Linked DNA regions of Homo sapiens: region 2 is linked to region 1. The links are contacts of gene promoters, found by promoter capture Hi-C in blood cells and fetal thymus (Javierre and others, 2016). All regions are on one chromosome and are shown on one strand. The core of a region is centred on a gene start or on the middle of the fragment in contact, and the rest is flanking DNA. Distances in the headings are between cores, read along the strand shown.

The links. Contacts are between HindIII fragments. The CHiCAGO score rates a contact against its expected background, and 5 or more counts as called.
Region 2: a contact is called between a fragment that was not itself captured here and the fragment with the promoter of PSME1 in region 1, in 1 of 17 cell types (total CD8 T cells). The highest score is 5.1, in total CD8 T cells.

The regions. Positions count from the first base shown.
Region 1 is chr14:24,133,467-24,141,010 of GRCh38, forward strand. PSME1 (proteasome activator subunit 1) reads left to right here and starts at 2,728. Exons shown (of 11, transcript NM_006263.4): 1 at 2,728-2,835; 2 at 3,519-3,551; 3 at 3,677-3,739; 4 at 3,855-3,965; 5 at 4,054-4,099; 6 at 4,234-4,331; 7 at 4,583-4,651; 8 at 4,730-4,797; 9 at 4,879-4,933; 10 at 5,008-5,094; 11 at 5,270-5,496. The coding sequence starts at 2,797. The coding sequence ends at 5,350. It overlaps EMC9 (ER membrane protein complex subunit 9), which reads right to left. Exons shown (of 6, transcript NM_016049.4): 3 at 7,423-7,499; 4 at 6,079-6,148; 5 at 5,894-5,988; 6 at 5,499-5,730. The coding sequence ends at 5,544. RefSeq lists silencers at 2,302-2,721, 2,772-3,061. The HindIII fragment of the contact is 8,418 bases long and covers 2,328-7,544 here.
Region 2 is chr14:24,315,096-24,323,000 of GRCh38, forward strand. It overlaps LTB4R (leukotriene B4 receptor), which reads left to right. Exons shown (of 2, transcript NM_001143919.3): 2 at 542-2,941. The coding sequence starts at 557. The coding sequence ends at 1,615. It overlaps ADCY4 (adenylate cyclase 4), which reads right to left. Exons shown (of 25, transcript NM_001198568.2): 18 at 7,809-7,905; 19 at 7,529-7,613; 20 at 6,971-7,129; 21 at 4,647-4,793; 22 at 4,234-4,341; 23 at 4,003-4,117; 24 at 3,559-3,683; 25 at 3,264-3,473. The coding sequence ends at 3,321. Among named protein-coding and RNA genes, the nearest start is that of LTB4R, 7.5 kb to the left of the region's middle. RefSeq lists enhancers at 985-1,485, 6,517-7,476. The HindIII fragment of the contact is 5,052 bases long and covers 1-4,968 here.

The DNA.
Region 1 (7,544 bases), core at 1,478-3,977:
GCTCACGCCTATAATCCTAGCACTTTGGGAGGCCGAGGTGGGCAGATCACTTGAGGTCAGGAGTTCAAAACCAGCCTGGCCAACATGGTGAAACTCCATCTCCACTAAAAATACAAAAAAAAAAAAAAAAAATTACTTGGGTGTGGTGGCGGGCGCCTGTAATCCCAGCTACTTGGGAGGCTGAGTCAGGAGAATCCCTTGAACCCGGGAGGCGGAGGTTGCAACGAGCTGAGGTTGCACCACTGCACTCCATCCTGGGCAACAAGAGTGAAATTCCATCTCAAAAAAAAAAAAGTTAACACATTTGGTCCTCACAACAATAAAAGTATGAGGTAGGTTGTACTGATCTTGATTGGCAAAAAAAAAAAAAAATTGAGATAGTAGTGTTCCCATTGTACAGTTGCAAACACTGAGACACAGAGGTTAAGTAACTTGTTCACAACTAATAAACAGAGGAGCCATGATTACAAAGCTAGATAATATGGGTATATCATCTATCCTCTAAACCAGGAATTAGCAAACTTTGGCCCTCCTGTGGCCAGTTTTGTATGACCTGCGAGCTAATAATTATATATGTATAATATATATATTTATATATTATATATATTATTATATATTTTATATATAATATTTGCATATATAATATATATATAATTTTTTTTTAAAGACAGAGACCTGGCAGTGATGGCAGTGTAATCCCAGCACTTTGGGAGGCTGAGGCAAGAGGATCACTTGAGCCCAGGAGTTTGAGACCAGCCTGGGCAAGATGGTGAGACCCTGTCTGTATAAAAATTTTTTTTAAAAGGTAAAACATTTTTTACATTTTTATTTTTATTTTATTTTTATTATTTTTTTGGAGACAGAGTCTCACTCTGTTGCCCAGGCTGGAGTGCAATTCTGGCTCACTGCAACCTCCACCTCTCAGGTTCAAGCGATCTCCTGTCTCAGCCTCCCGAGTAGCTGGGATTACAGGCCCCCACCACCACACCCGTCTAGTGTTTGTATTTTTAGTAGGCACAGGGTTTCACCATGTTGGCCAGGCTGGTCTCGAACTTCTGACCTCAAGTGATCTGCCTGCCTTGGCCTCCCAAAGTGCTGGGATTAGAGGCGTGAGTCACTGTGCCCGGCCATTTTTACATTTTTTAATGGTTGAAAAAGCAAAAGAATAAGAATATTTTATTACAGGAGAAAGTTACATGAAATTCAAATTCCAGTGTCTATAAAATGTTATCTCACCAAACTAATTCATTTACATATGGCAGCTTTCCTACTACAATGGCAGAGTTGAGTAGACAGACACTGTAAGGCCTATAAAGCCTAAAATATTTACTCTCTGGCCCTTTATAGAAAAAGTTGGCCAGACGCGGTGGCTCATGCCTGCAATCCCAGCACTTTGGGAGGCCGAGGCGGGCGGATCACGAGGTCAGGAGATCGAGTCCATCCTGGCTAACATGGTGAAACCCCGTCTCTACTAAAAATACAAAAAATTAGCCGGGCGTGGTGGGACGCGCCTGTAGTCCTAGCTACTCCGTAGGCTGAAGCAGGAGAATCGCTTGAACCCTGGAGGTGGAGGTTGCAGTGAGCCTAGATGGTGCCACTGCACTCCACCCTGGGCGACAGAGCGAGACTCCGTCCCCCAACACACACACACACACACACACACACACACACGTTTGCCAAAACCTGGTTTAAATCAGTAAATTATCCTGGAAAAAAAAAAAAAAACACCTGGCTAATATCAGAGAGATAAATGCTATGAATGTACTAAAACAGGATGATTTGTAATAGATTTGGAGGGAGGTTCCTTATAAAGGATGATGAAAATAGTTCTCTCTGAAGAGGTGACATCTAAACTGAGAACCGAATGACAACACCCAGGGTAAGGGTGTTTTAGGCAAAGGGATTATTAGCAAGGGCAAAGGCCCTGAGGCAGAAATGAACATGACACATCTGAGAAACAAATAGCCCAAATATTTGCAAGTGTAATGAATGAAGGGGCAAGCAGTAGAAAGTGGACTTAAAGGGGAGACAGGTGCGACAGCCTTTTGGATTTCATTCAAAGGTCAACAGGCAGCTGAGAAAGGGTTTTAAGCCAGAGAGAGGCATGAACCCGCTGCTCCGTGAGAGTGGGTTATAGAATGGCATCTGCAGCCGTGGTCCAGGAGAGAGTTGGTCCGGGCTTGGATAGGGATGCTGCCAGCTCTGGTGCCGGTGTTGCTACAGGTGCGCAGGATGTCGGCAGAGCCAGAGGCCCACGCTAGCAAGGCTAGGAAAGACAGGCCAGGTCTTATTCCATCTCTAGGGAAAGACGGAAGAGCCCTAAGTAAAGCTTATCTGTCCCAGGCGGAGCAGGGGAAGAAGAGAGCAGGTGGGGAGCCAGTTGGGAGGCGGGAGGTGGAGGTTGGGACGCGGAGAGACTGGCTTGGGCTTGGCGATGGGAGGACCCGGACCCGCCGTCCTCAGGCGGCGGGCGGCAGGTGGCGGGAGGCGGGAGGCGGGGACCGGGCCAGCGGAGGTGGGGAGCCTGGAAGCTGGCCCTCGCGAGGCGGCGCGGGGAGGGTGGGTGAAGAGCGCCTGTGCGCGCTAGGCGGAGCCTCACCCGCCGCCCTCCTCTGCGGCACCGCCCCTTCCATGGCAGGGCTGACCCCGCCTCCTCCATCCGACCCCGCCTCCTCCAGCCCTCCCCGCCCCACTACCCAGGAAGGCGGAGCTGGGTGCGAGCGCCCTACCGCTTTCGCTTTCCCTTCGCGGTGCCCACTCCACTCCTTGTGCGGCGCTAGGCCCCCCGTCCCGGTCATGGCCATGCTCAGGGTCCAGCCCGAGGCCCAAGCCAAGGTGAGCGCCGCGGGGTCTAGAAAGGGCCCACTGGGGAGGCGTGGCTGGAGCGGCCGGGGGCATCCCCGACCCGCCCCCCAGGCTCCCACGCGAGTCGGGGGCAGTCGGCCGAGCTGGCGCGCCCGGAGCACCTGCGCCCCGGGGAGGGCGGCGACTGCTGCCTGCGGGGAGAGGCGAGGCGGCCGTGGTTCTGCGGGGTGAGGTGAAGCGGAGAGCTGGCGTGGAGGGGAACTCCGCTGGCCTGGGGCCGGGGCCACACACAGACTGGGTGCGGGACTGCCCCAGCTACCTTCTGGCCTTTCCCTCAGGGAGGGTCCCGGGGCCCACCCCATCCCTGTCCTACTTGCAGAGGACTCTCAGCACCCCTCCTCACACCTGCCAGGCGACCCCAGAGATCTGTTCTCACGTGAACACTGGCCCTTCACCGCCAGGAATGTTCTCATCCCCCATATCCAGCCCCAGGGATACCCACTCCACTTTCCGTAGATCCAGGTCTGCAGAGATCCACCTTCTCCACCACCCCAACCCACCCTACAGGCATCCATCTCGCTTTCTTCAGGTCTGGCCTTAGAGGGATCCCCTCCACCCTTCCCCAGGTCAGGCCCTACATAACCCTAAGGGAACTGTCCTCAAATGAACTGGCCTTAAAGCCAAGTTTCTGAAGGGATGCGTGTGCCCCACAGGTGGATGTGTTTCGTGAAGACCTCTGTACCAAGGTAAGACATGCCCCATCAGCGTGGCCCCACCCCTGCCCAACTCCTACTGCTCAACCCTGCCTCACTACCTAGGACGGGCATTTGATGCTGACTCCCATCCTCCTCCACCCCCACCTCACACACAGACAGAGAACCTGCTCGGGAGCTATTTCCCCAAGAAGATTTCTGAGCTGGATGCATTTTTAAAGGTACCGCGGCTGGGCAGGGAGCTAGGGAGTAAAGGCCAAGAGAAGAGTCTGGAGGCTGTGAGAGTGAGGTGAGAGGAACTCCCTCACCTCCAGCCCTCCTCCCACCCTACACCAGGAGCCAGCTCTCAATGAAGCCAACTTGAGCAATCTGAAGGCCCCATTGGACATCCCAGTGCCTGATCCAGTCAAGGAGAAAGAGAAAGAGGAGCGGAAGAAACAGCAGGAGGCAAGCTGGGAAGACCTGGGAGAAGGGATCCAACTATGGGGGTAATCAACCTTAGTCCTGACTCTCATGAGCTCCTCTCTTTCTGCAGAAGGAAGACAAGGATGAAAAGAAGAAGGGGGAGGATGAAGACAAAGGTACTTGAAACCACAATGGTGGGAAGAGACTTGAGTCCCACTCACAGGAGCTCCTCCTAAGGATTTCTTTCCAGTCTCCCCTTCGCCCCTCACACAGGCTCAATCATGTGACTGACCCATTGCTCACTCTCTAGGTCCTCCCTGTGGCCCAGTGAACTGCAATGAAAAGATCGTGGTCCTTCTGCAGCGCTTGAAGCCTGAGATCAAGGATGTCATTGAGCAGCTCAACCTGGTAAGCCCTCCCCCTTAAACTCTCAGGCTTCAAGTCAAACCATTGTCCTCTTGGTCCCTGCCATTTAGGGCCTGGCACTTGCCAGGTTTTAGCAAGAGAGGGCACAGCAAGTGAAACCAGAAGTCCAGGCCCTGGGGCTCAGGATAGACCCGGCACGCCTCCACCCAGTGTGGGGAGGGAAGCAAGGGAGAATATGAAACTGGGAATTGGGTAGAGGGCTGATGTGGCATTATGCCATTCCCTCTTCCCAGGTCACCACCTGGTTGCAGCTGCAGATACCTCGGATTGAGGATGGTAACAATTTTGGAGTGGCTGTCCAGGTGAGAGCGCTGCCCCACTTCCCTGCTCTTTTCTAGTCCATGCTTCCTTCCACTTTCCCCCTTGCTTTTTTTCCCTAGGAGAAGGTGTTTGAGCTGATGACCAGCCTCCACACCAAGCTAGAAGGCTTCCACACTCAAATCTCTAAGTGAGTGACCACCCATGTGCACACTGTTTTTGTTTTGGGAGACCTCCTTCTTCTACTCCATACACACTTCTCCTTCCACAGGTATTTCTCTGAGCGTGGTGATGCAGTGACTAAAGCAGCCAAGCAGCCCCATGTGGTAGGTGAGGCCCAGGTCAGGGTGCATGGGGGAAGGACACATGTAAGGTCAGGCCTGACCCGAGCTTCCCACAGGGTGATTATCGGCAGCTGGTGCACGAGCTGGATGAGGCAGAGTACCGGGACATCCGGCTGATGGTCATGGAGATCCGCAATGCTTATGTGAGGAGGCAAGGGCAGGGCAGGGGTGGGCAGAGGCAGCTTTCCCAGGCCACCCACTCCCTGACCCTGCAGGCTAGGGGTTAAGGGTGACAAAGCTCAGCTTCTCCACAAGGCTAGAAATGGGGCACAGAGCCACTGGAGGCCTCTGACTGACCTCTACTCCCTGGCCCTGTAGGCTGTGTTATATGACATCATCCTGAAGAACTTCGAGAAGCTCAAGAAGCCCAGGGGAGAAACAAAGGGAATGATCTATTGAGAGCCCTCTCTCCCATTCTGTGATGAGTACAGCAGAGACCTTCCTGCTTTTTACTGGGGACTCCAGATTTTCCCCAAACTTGCTTCTGTTGAGATTTTTCCCTCACCTTGCCTCTCAGGCACAATAAATATAGTTATACCACTGCCCATCAGCCCAAGTCTCTTTATTGGAACCGGGCCCCGCTGGCCCTGGCTCAGGCATTTCCATTTCCATTAGTGGGACCAACCCACTGGGTGATTTGAGTGTTGAGCCGCTGGTTGGTCCAGTCCTGCCGGATGTCATCAAGGTGGCAGTCAAAGTCCACAAGGTGCTGGTGGGCCCGATCTTCCAGTAGAGCTCCCACCATCTGCCGTGACTCTTCCCAGTCCCTCCACATCACTCTGAAATAGTAACCCCCATGGAGGTCAAACAGCAAGTAGTGGGTCCAGACACAGACTTAACAGAGATTGGGTCTAGAGAAAGACCCTTGGGGCAGGGCCAAGGACAGAGGAGACCCAGGAGCCTTGGGCTTCTAAGAAGAGGTAGAGGGAGTGGGGTACTCACAAGTTCTTATCCTTAGGGACCCAGCGGAGACCTTGGTTCTCCAGGACGATGACCGGGGGCACACGAGGCTGAGGCACCAGTTTCTGATTATCCAACTGAGTGGACAAAGATGGGCAAGTGAGAGTTTCAAGGGTCCCCCCACCCTACTTGCTTTTCACCTCCCCACCCAGAAACCCAAGCCTCACCATAATAAGTACTGCATCAGGGAAGAATTCTGCAATTCGCCCAGCAATTTTCAAGGCCAGGGGCCCAGGGCTGTGTAGAGGGAAGATCAGAGGAGTGAGGAGCCAACTGTGGGCAAAACCCATCCATTTGAGCTGGGCCTCCCAGGTCTCATAGGTGTGGGCGCAGCTGTGGCCTTTCCCTGTAGGTGGCCTGCGGGGATCGGGCCTGCTGGATGCTTGATGCACGACTGCTTGATGCTTGAGTGCTGTGGGAGACAGGTGCTCAGATATTGCTGGTGAGAGTGGAAACCAAAGGTGGTCTTTTTGGAAGGTAATTTGGCATAACCATCCAAATTGAAACTGTATACATACTATACATATGCTGACCCAGAAATTCTACTTATAAAGAATTTATGGTAATCATAGGACAGTGTCTGTAATAAAACACTGGAAACAACCTCAATGTTTAAAGTATTAAATAAATTAGAGTACATTCATATTCAGACTATATAGCTGTTACGGTAGATCTTGGTGTGGAAATGGGATGATGTCAAGTATTTATTAAGTGAGGGAGAAACGCAAATTACAAAACAGTACCTCTAATTGCTCCATGTATATGATTAATATATATATATATATATATATGTCTTTTCCTATATGTATATATATAAGGAAACTGCCTTATTTTTGAAGTTGCTGGTTGGGATTTCTCTGTTCTTTCAGCCCCTGGGGGACACCTCAGTTAAAGCAAGATCAGTCTGTTGGCCGAGAGTGGTGGCTCACGCCTGTAATCCCAGCACTTTGGGAGTCCGAGGCGCGTGGATCACCTGAGGTCAAGTTCTAGACCAGCCTGGCCAACATGGCGAAACCCCATCTCTACTAAAAATAAAAAATAATAATAAATTAAAAAAATAAAAAAAATTAGCCGGGCATGGTGGCGCTCATCTGTGATCCCAGCTACTCGGGAGGCTGAGGCAGGAGAATCGCTTGAATCTAGGAGGTGGAAGTTCCAGTGAGCCGAGATTGCGCCACTGCACTCCAGCCTGGGAGACAGAGGGAGACTCCGTCTCAAAAAAAAAAAAAAAATCAGTCTGTTGATACACAGTTGTCCTCCCCGCCCCAACGGCACTCCAGGGCAGGGCTCTGTCCTATTCATCTTTATATTCCCTCACTCCAGTACCCAGCATAGTGCCTGGTGTAAAGCCCCTGCTCCTAAGCGTTTGATGAAGGAAAGATAAAAGGAACGACCTTGGTTCATCTTGTGCGCCCCCGCCCCGCCCACCGCCCCACGCATCCTCGCCCTCTATTCCTCCAATCCCCAACCCGCCATAATCCTTTCCTTCTTCCTCTGGCTACGCCACTCACCTCTGATCGTTCACAGCTGCATTGGCATGGTAGTAACCAGCCACCACCAGACCGGCCTGTGCTCCCCACACATCCACCTGTCGTAGGAAAGGGGCCATCAGTAATTAAATTGTGCCGCTGGC
Region 2 (7,905 bases), core at 1,193-3,692, 180 kb after region 1:
TCTCCAAAGAAAGCCTGACCAGCGTAAAAAGTTGGGAGGCTTTGTCCTTGTCACTTGTCCACTAAACTCCTCCCCTCCCTGTTATTCCTGGTTGACCCTGGGCATCTCTGGGGACAGTAGGCAGGTGATTGGGAAAGTTAATGGGATTGAGGGGCTGAGGGCCTGGCAGGGGGCAAAAAGACTGGCCTTTCAAGGGGTGCAGCATTGGTAGGAACTCTGTTTGGTTCTGGGCTTTAGGGTCTCCTAAGGGGAGGAGACTGAAAAGGTCTGGAAATGCTGCTGCTGCTGTGGTCACTGTATATTTTGCAATTGGGTCTGTGGACAGGAAGGGGCCGCATGACCCAGTTAGGAAACTAGTCTTTGTACTCAACCAGATCCCTTTAAGTTGTCAGTCTGCAGCGATGGGGGCAGTATATTTCAGGGGGACCTCTGATGCTGCTGACCCTGGAGATAGACTAGAGTTCTCAGCCTAGGTGTGTCCATGGCGTCAGGAAACCCTTGGTCCTCTACTCTCATGCGTGTGTCCGCCCTCACTCTCCAGGTCCTCCCGACGGCCATGAACACTACATCTTCTGCAGCACCCCCCTCACTAGGTGTAGAGTTCATCTCTCTGCTGGCTATCATCCTGCTGTCAGTGGCGCTGGCTGTGGGGCTTCCCGGCAACAGCTTTGTGGTGTGGAGTATCCTGAAAAGGATGCAGAAGCGCTCTGTCACTGCCCTGATGGTGCTGAACCTGGCCCTGGCCGACCTGGCCGTATTGCTCACTGCTCCCTTTTTCCTTCACTTCCTGGCCCAAGGCACCTGGAGTTTTGGACTGGCTGGTTGCCGCCTGTGTCACTATGTCTGCGGAGTCAGCATGTACGCCAGCGTCCTGCTTATCACGGCCATGAGTCTAGACCGCTCACTGGCGGTGGCCCGCCCCTTTGTGTCCCAGAAGCTACGCACCAAGGCGATGGCCCGGCGGGTGCTGGCAGGCATCTGGGTGTTGTCCTTTCTGCTGGCCACACCCGTCCTCGCGTACCGCACAGTAGTGCCCTGGAAAACGAACATGAGCCTGTGCTTCCCGCGGTACCCCAGCGAAGGGCACCGGGCCTTCCATCTAATCTTCGAGGCTGTCACGGGCTTCCTGCTGCCCTTCCTGGCTGTGGTGGCCAGCTACTCGGACATAGGGCGTCGGCTACAGGCCCGGCGCTTCCGCCGCAGCCGCCGCACCGGCCGCCTGGTGGTGCTCATCATCCTGACCTTCGCCGCCTTCTGGCTGCCCTACCACGTGGTGAACCTGGCTGAGGCGGGCCGCGCGCTGGCCGGCCAGGCCGCCGGGTTAGGGCTCGTGGGGAAGCGGCTGAGCCTGGCCCGCAACGTGCTCATCGCACTCGCCTTCCTGAGCAGCAGCGTGAACCCCGTGCTGTACGCGTGCGCCGGCGGCGGCCTGCTGCGCTCGGCGGGCGTGGGCTTCGTCGCCAAGCTGCTGGAGGGCACGGGCTCCGAGGCGTCCAGCACGCGCCGCGGGGGCAGCCTGGGCCAGACCGCTAGGAGCGGCCCCGCCGCTCTGGAGCCCGGCCCTTCCGAGAGCCTCACTGCCTCCAGCCCTCTCAAGTTAAACGAACTGAACTAGGCCTGGTGGAAGGAGGCGCACTTTCCTCCTGGCAGAATGCTAGCTCTGAGCCAGTTCAGTACCTGGAGGAGGAGCAGGGGCGTGGAGGGCGTGGAGGGCGTGGGAGCGTGGGAGGCGGGAGTGGAGTGGAAGAAGAGGGAGAGGTGGAGCAAAGTGAGGGCCGAGTGAGAGCGTGCTCCAGCCTGGCTCCCACAGGCAGCTTTAACCATTAAAACTGAAGTCTGAAATTTGGTCAACCTTGTGAGTGGGGTACATGTGCTGTGGGTATCGGGGTGCTCGTGGGCGCCCTGGTGGGGCCCCTCTCGGTAGTTGAGAGTCACGTCCTTTAGTTCCCCATGATTTACAATTTTGGAAGGGACACAAAGAAACATAGACTTCCCCCATCCCAGATGATTCCGAGTACATAGTCTGCAGATAATACTTAGCAAAACGCAGTCTACAGACTCCTAAAGCAGCTTGTCTAGGAAGACCACCCATGTGGGCTTATCACTCCAGGTTCTGTGACCCGGGACCTTCTGAGAAAACAGCACTGCTGTGAAATATCTTCCTTGAAGCCTGTGATAAGTCTCCTTGTTAGAATGACTCCAACTTCCTGCCAATAATCTTTGTCCTCTCCATAGGAGATGTTCTAGGGGATGCCTTCCTTCCCTCCATTTCACAAAGAGGCCAGACTTGAGGACTAAGTCATTAGATCTTATCCCTTAGAATTTTGCATATCAGCATCTGCTAACCTCCACAACACACCCTGGCACAGGGTGGGGCTGAGGGCCCCAGGAAACAAAGATTCCCAAAAGTGAGAGGGATGAGTCATTATTTCCTAGAGATGACTGTTGTTTTAGAGAACCTTGGTCCAACTCTGTTCTGACAAGGTTTTAGGAAGATGGCAACAACAGTGGCAGCAGTGTACTTTTTGGATCTTTCTCATAAAAAAACAAAAGAGCAAGTAAGAGAGGGAAACCAAATATCCACATGCAACATCCGCAACAAATCTAGTATGTCAAGGTTTGACATACTCCCATGGACCCCAAAGTATGAGCCAGTGAGAATGAGTCATCAATATCTCAAGACCCATATACCAGCATCTGTGCAGAAGGATGCAGAAGGAAGCAAAGGGATGTTGGATGGACCTAAGAAGAGGAGATCCCCAAGCTGTCTACAGATCCTTACTGGAAGGTATGGTGCACCAATTTGAGAACAGCAGCTGAAACTGGGAGGGACCTAACGGAGTATTTCCCAGTCCTCTCGCCCATTCTGTATGGTGAGCACATAATAGGTACTTATTTAGTGTTTGTCGAATTAATAAAGTTCAAATGACATTTCCCTGGAGATTCTTCCGGTATTTTTGAGTAGGGGGCAGGAAAGGGCAAATTTTTGTTTTGAGTCATGTGGCTAAATTCTTTATGCTTCCAAGGTGTACAAAATACTATAATCAAGTTGGCAGAGAGGCTGAGGGAGTTCTCTTCCTGAGCTTGTGAAAAAAATCACTCCCTTTCAAAATGCTTAGTCTCACATGCATGCATGTGTGCAGGCATGTGCACACACATTCACACACACACTCGCACTAAAATTGGCCTGGGAAGAAGAAGAATTCCCACTGAAGGGCAATGAGAAGGTGATCCCCAGCTATATCAGCAGCTTCAGACATCAATGGGCTCCAGACACCCCAGAGTCTCTTTATTGAGGTTCTTAGAAGGCGAGTGCAATCTCAGCCTAGGGTAGCTGAAGGAGGTCCAGTTCGTGTCAAGTCTGTGTTCAGGAAGTAGGTGCAGAGCTGCCCTTTGCCTTTCACCTTGATGACACCCCGGCTGTAGCAGGTGTAGCCCAGGGACTGTAGGGCCCATGCTGTCTCCTCAGTCACCTACAATTGGAGGGGGGCGAGGGAATATGGAGGTGGCCCTATTCTTAGTCCCCCTCCCCCTATGCCTCCAATGTGGTTCCCTCACTTGGATTTTGCCAAGGACTCCTGTACTCTCCATGCGGCTGGCCACGTTCACTGTGTTGCCCCAAATGTCATATTGCGGCTTCTGGGCCCCAATAACTCCAGCTACTACGGGTCCATGGTTCAACCCTAATGAGGGATGTGGTAATGACAGACTTGGAGAAGGAAGAGGGGAAGAGGAAGCCACAAGGAACTGGAAGGAAGGGAGAAGAGCCTGGGGGGCCCTAGAGGAGAGGAGGGGTCTCTAAGGGCTGGAGGAATGTAGCTTAAGAAAAAGAGTGGGAGAGCCTCGTACCTCCTTGCCCAGCACCTTCACACCCCATCCCAGGGAGTGAGTCAGGAAAGGGGCTTCAGGATGAACTGGGAGCAGCTAACAAAGGACTTGGAGTGGGGCAAGCTCAGGAAGGTGAGGAGGTACCAGACTGCTGCAGCAGGGGAAGTCTCTCACCCACTCGCAGGCGGAAGTTGTTGAATGAATGCTTGTTGATGACGTCCAGCTTAGACCCCAGGGCCACGGCAAATTCCACCATAGTGCCAAGGTGGCTGCAGCTCCGTTCAGCATCCTGGCAATGGGCCCGCCCACCAGGGTGGGCCAGTGAGGGCACAGGAATAAGTCCCACTAATAAGCCCATCAATGAGAGCCCAGAGGAGGATGGTAGGTAAGGAAGGGTTGCCGTACCTGTTGTGCATCCTGTCCAGAGGTGGCATTTAAGCCTGTGGCTGCCATGTAGGTGCTGCCGATGGTCTTGATCTTCTCCACCCCACTGAACTTGGGCTTGGAGAGCAGCTGTATATAGAGAAGAGTCCTGTCCCCAGTCTCTCTTACTCTCTCCATCACCTCTCCCAGAAGCCCAGCCCCAAGCCTTTGGAGTTAAAGGATCAGGCTGTGGGAGTGGAGATAGTGTCAGGAAGGAGAGGGTTGGTGGTGGGCAGTGTTGCTGGAGTGGGTAGATCTGGGGGATCAGAGGAGGTGAGGGAGTACTGTGGAGGGGAGGATTGACTTCATGGCCAGAAAAGCAAAGTGGAAGGAGGTACTGGTGGAAAATTCTAGAATCTAGGACATAGGGTCTGGGAGACTCTTGGAATTTTCACCTCATCAAAATCAGCAATTATCTCATTGAGCAGCCTCAGACACTCTAGGCCCTCATGATTGATGTTGGATTCAGAGTAGAACTCCTTGAAGTCTGGGACTGAGGCGAAGAGGACACAAACGCATTCATAGGACTGGTGGTAGAGATCCTGGGGGAACAGGAGACTGGAGTGAGGGGTGTGTGTCATGTTCCTCTCCCTTCTAGAGGTCTGCGTGGGGCCCTCCTCCCCATGTCCACACTCCTGGTCTCCCTGTTTAAGAAGAATTGGGAAGGAGGGAGAGGAGTAGGGCCAGGCTACCCCAGGGAAGTGACTTAGGAGTCAAAGCTTAGATCTCATTGTAATTCTAGAAGAGACAGAGGTTTGGCGTTAGGATCACCTCACAGCAACACGAAGGGAGTCACTCCTAGAACTGGGATCCTGTCAATGTGAATTATTTCTATATCCTATCTTATTGCTGAAAGGTGTTTAAGTCAATTAAGCCGGCTACAAAACCAAGGGTAAAATGTGTTTAAGTGTTTAAGTCAGTTAAGATAGGTACAAAATGAAAGATGAAGTAAGCAACAATAGGGACTATGAGGCAAAGGGAAAATAAGGGTAAGATAATAAAGATGGAATCAGATCTGAGGGTGGTTCACAAAATGAGTGCCATGAAATCCTATTTAGTCTTAGATTTTGGCTCTCAGCTTTCTAGCAGCCAAAGTGAAGAGAGAAAAGGATCGATTACAAGATTCCTTGTGTCTGTAAGAGAAGAAACCAGAAAAGAACTACTGATCTTGAGAGCAGGGAGCAGGCGGTGGGGGCATAAGGCTGTGAAAGAGCTCCTGAGCTGTTTCTTTTAACATCCCTCAATATGAGCCAAGAGCATTTCCACAGCAGAGGGCCAGCAGATGATACAAATAAGATGGTACAAATATGTGGGTGAATTTCTGATGGTTTGGCGCTAGCAAGATTTTTGAGGATCTAGAGCAGCAGCATCCAATAGAAATTTTTGCAATGGAAACATTCCCTATGTGCAGTGTCCAATAGGGTGGCCACTAGCTACGAGTGGCTGTTGAGCCCTGGAAATGTGGCTGGTGCAACTGAGGAACTGAATATTTTATTTTAATTAATTAACATTAAAATTTCATATGGCTAATGGCTACCATATTGGATAGTGCAGGTCTAGAGAGAGGGGTGGACTGTATCCTCTAGACCAGCAGTCCCCAACCTTTTTGGACCCAAGGATGGGTTTCATGGAAGACAAGTTTTCCACGCACCCAGGCTGTGGTGGGGGATGGTTTTGGGATGAAACTGTTCTACTTCAGATCATCAGGCATTAGTTATTAGGTTGGTGCAAAATTAATTGCATTTCTTTTTTTTTTTTTTTTTTGCCATTAAAAGTAATTACTTTTAGGCCGGGTGCGGTGCGCCTGTAATCTCAGCATTTTGGGAGGCCAAGGTGGGTGGATCACCTGAGATCAGGAGATCGAGATCAGCCTGACCAACATGGTGAAACCCTGTCTCTACTAAAAAAAAAAAATATAAAAAAAATTAGCCAGGCATGGTGGCAGGCGCCTGTAATCCCAGCTACCTGGGAGGCTGAGGCAGGAGAATTGCTTGAACCCAGGAGGCGGAGGTTTCAGTGAGCTGAGACCGTGCCATTACATGCACTCCAGCCTGAGCGACGAGAGTGAAACTCTGTTGCACTCCAGCCTGAGCGACGAGAGTGAAACTCTGTTGCACTCCAGCCTGAGCGATGAGAGTGAAACTGTGTCTTAAAAAAAAAAAAAAGTAATTACTTTTAATTATATTACTTTTAATGGCAAAAACTGCGATTAATTTTGCACCAGCCTAATAGATTTTCATAAGGAGTGTACAACCTAGACCCCTTGCATGTGCAGTTCACAATAAGGTTCAAGTTCCTATGAGAATCTGATGCTGCTACTGATCTGACAAGAGGCAGAGCTCAGGCGGTAGTGCTGGCTCACCGCTCACCTCCTGCTGTGTAGCCCAGTTCCCAACAGGTCATGGACTAGTATCAGTCTGCGGCCTGGGGGCTGGGGACCCCTGCTCCAGACAGCTCCCATCAACGCCTAGGCTTCTGGAATGTATGGAATGGTCATGAGTTAGAGAAGACATGCCTTCCAAGTAAGAATTTGAAATGCAGTTTTGTGCTCACCAAAGAAAGAATCTAAGATGTTGTGAAAACAAAGACGCTTGACAAGCACAAGGGCTTGGGTGACCCTTCTGGGGGTTCTAGAGAAAACGGGCCATAGGTCAAGGCTTTCATCTGAAATTAGGCCCTATGGCATCCGTGGCTCAGGAGTCAGGGGGTCAGGAGTCACCTCGTTGCGCCGGTTCTGGCCAATGAACTGGGGGGCCACGTGTGCAGGGAGCACGTTCTCCAAGAGCAGCCGAGTCAGGTTCTCCATCGTCTCTGTCTCCTCCCTCTCCTGCCTCAGCTTCTTCTTCCACAGGAAGTCCAGGCGGCAGTAGTACTCATTCTGGGGAGGGTCACCCGGGGCCATGGGGAGACACAGAGCAGGGGAAGCCCAGCTCCTGAGTGTTCAGCCCCAACTCCATGATGCCTGAAACCACCCCCACCCCACCCCCAGTTTAGAAGTAGAGCTTAAGGTGTAAGTATACTTGGAGAGAGACTATCCTTGAAATTAGATTCAGACTAGGGATAGAGAATTGGCAGCAGACTTTTTCTAAAGCATGGGCTTTCCCAGATAGGGGTGTGGGAGAAAGGAGGGGCAGGGAGTGAAGGAGAAGAAAGGAAGCAGGAAGGCTCGCTTAGAAGCTTCCAATGGGCATTCAACCCTGGAGATTAGAAAGATCAAGTCACAGATATGGGGGCCACTCATAGGTGGGCCCTGGTGGGGCTGAGCTGGGTGACTTACCTGGCGAGCCAGGACAAGGAGGGTGAAGAAGAAGATGAAGAAGGAGATAGCACCCATCAGTTTGGGCTCCTTCAGCACTCCGGGCCTGAAGGGGCCATGGATCAGGGTGACCCCTTGCTTTCCCCCTTCCTGGCCTTCTCCCTGCCCCCATGTAGGCCTCCGCTTCCCTCCCACTTTGCCCTGTGGGTGATTCAGGTCGGTGAGGCCAGGACAGCTCTGCTGTATCCCATCTCACCCCATCCCAGGGGGCCCGGCACCTCTGTCCAGCAGCTGTGCACACCTGGAGTCCAAGGGGCCCAGATAGAGGCGGACGATGAGGCATTCCGACAGCCAGGCATGGGAGTGCAGGAAGAGGGAGCAGGATGCCGCCAGCCACA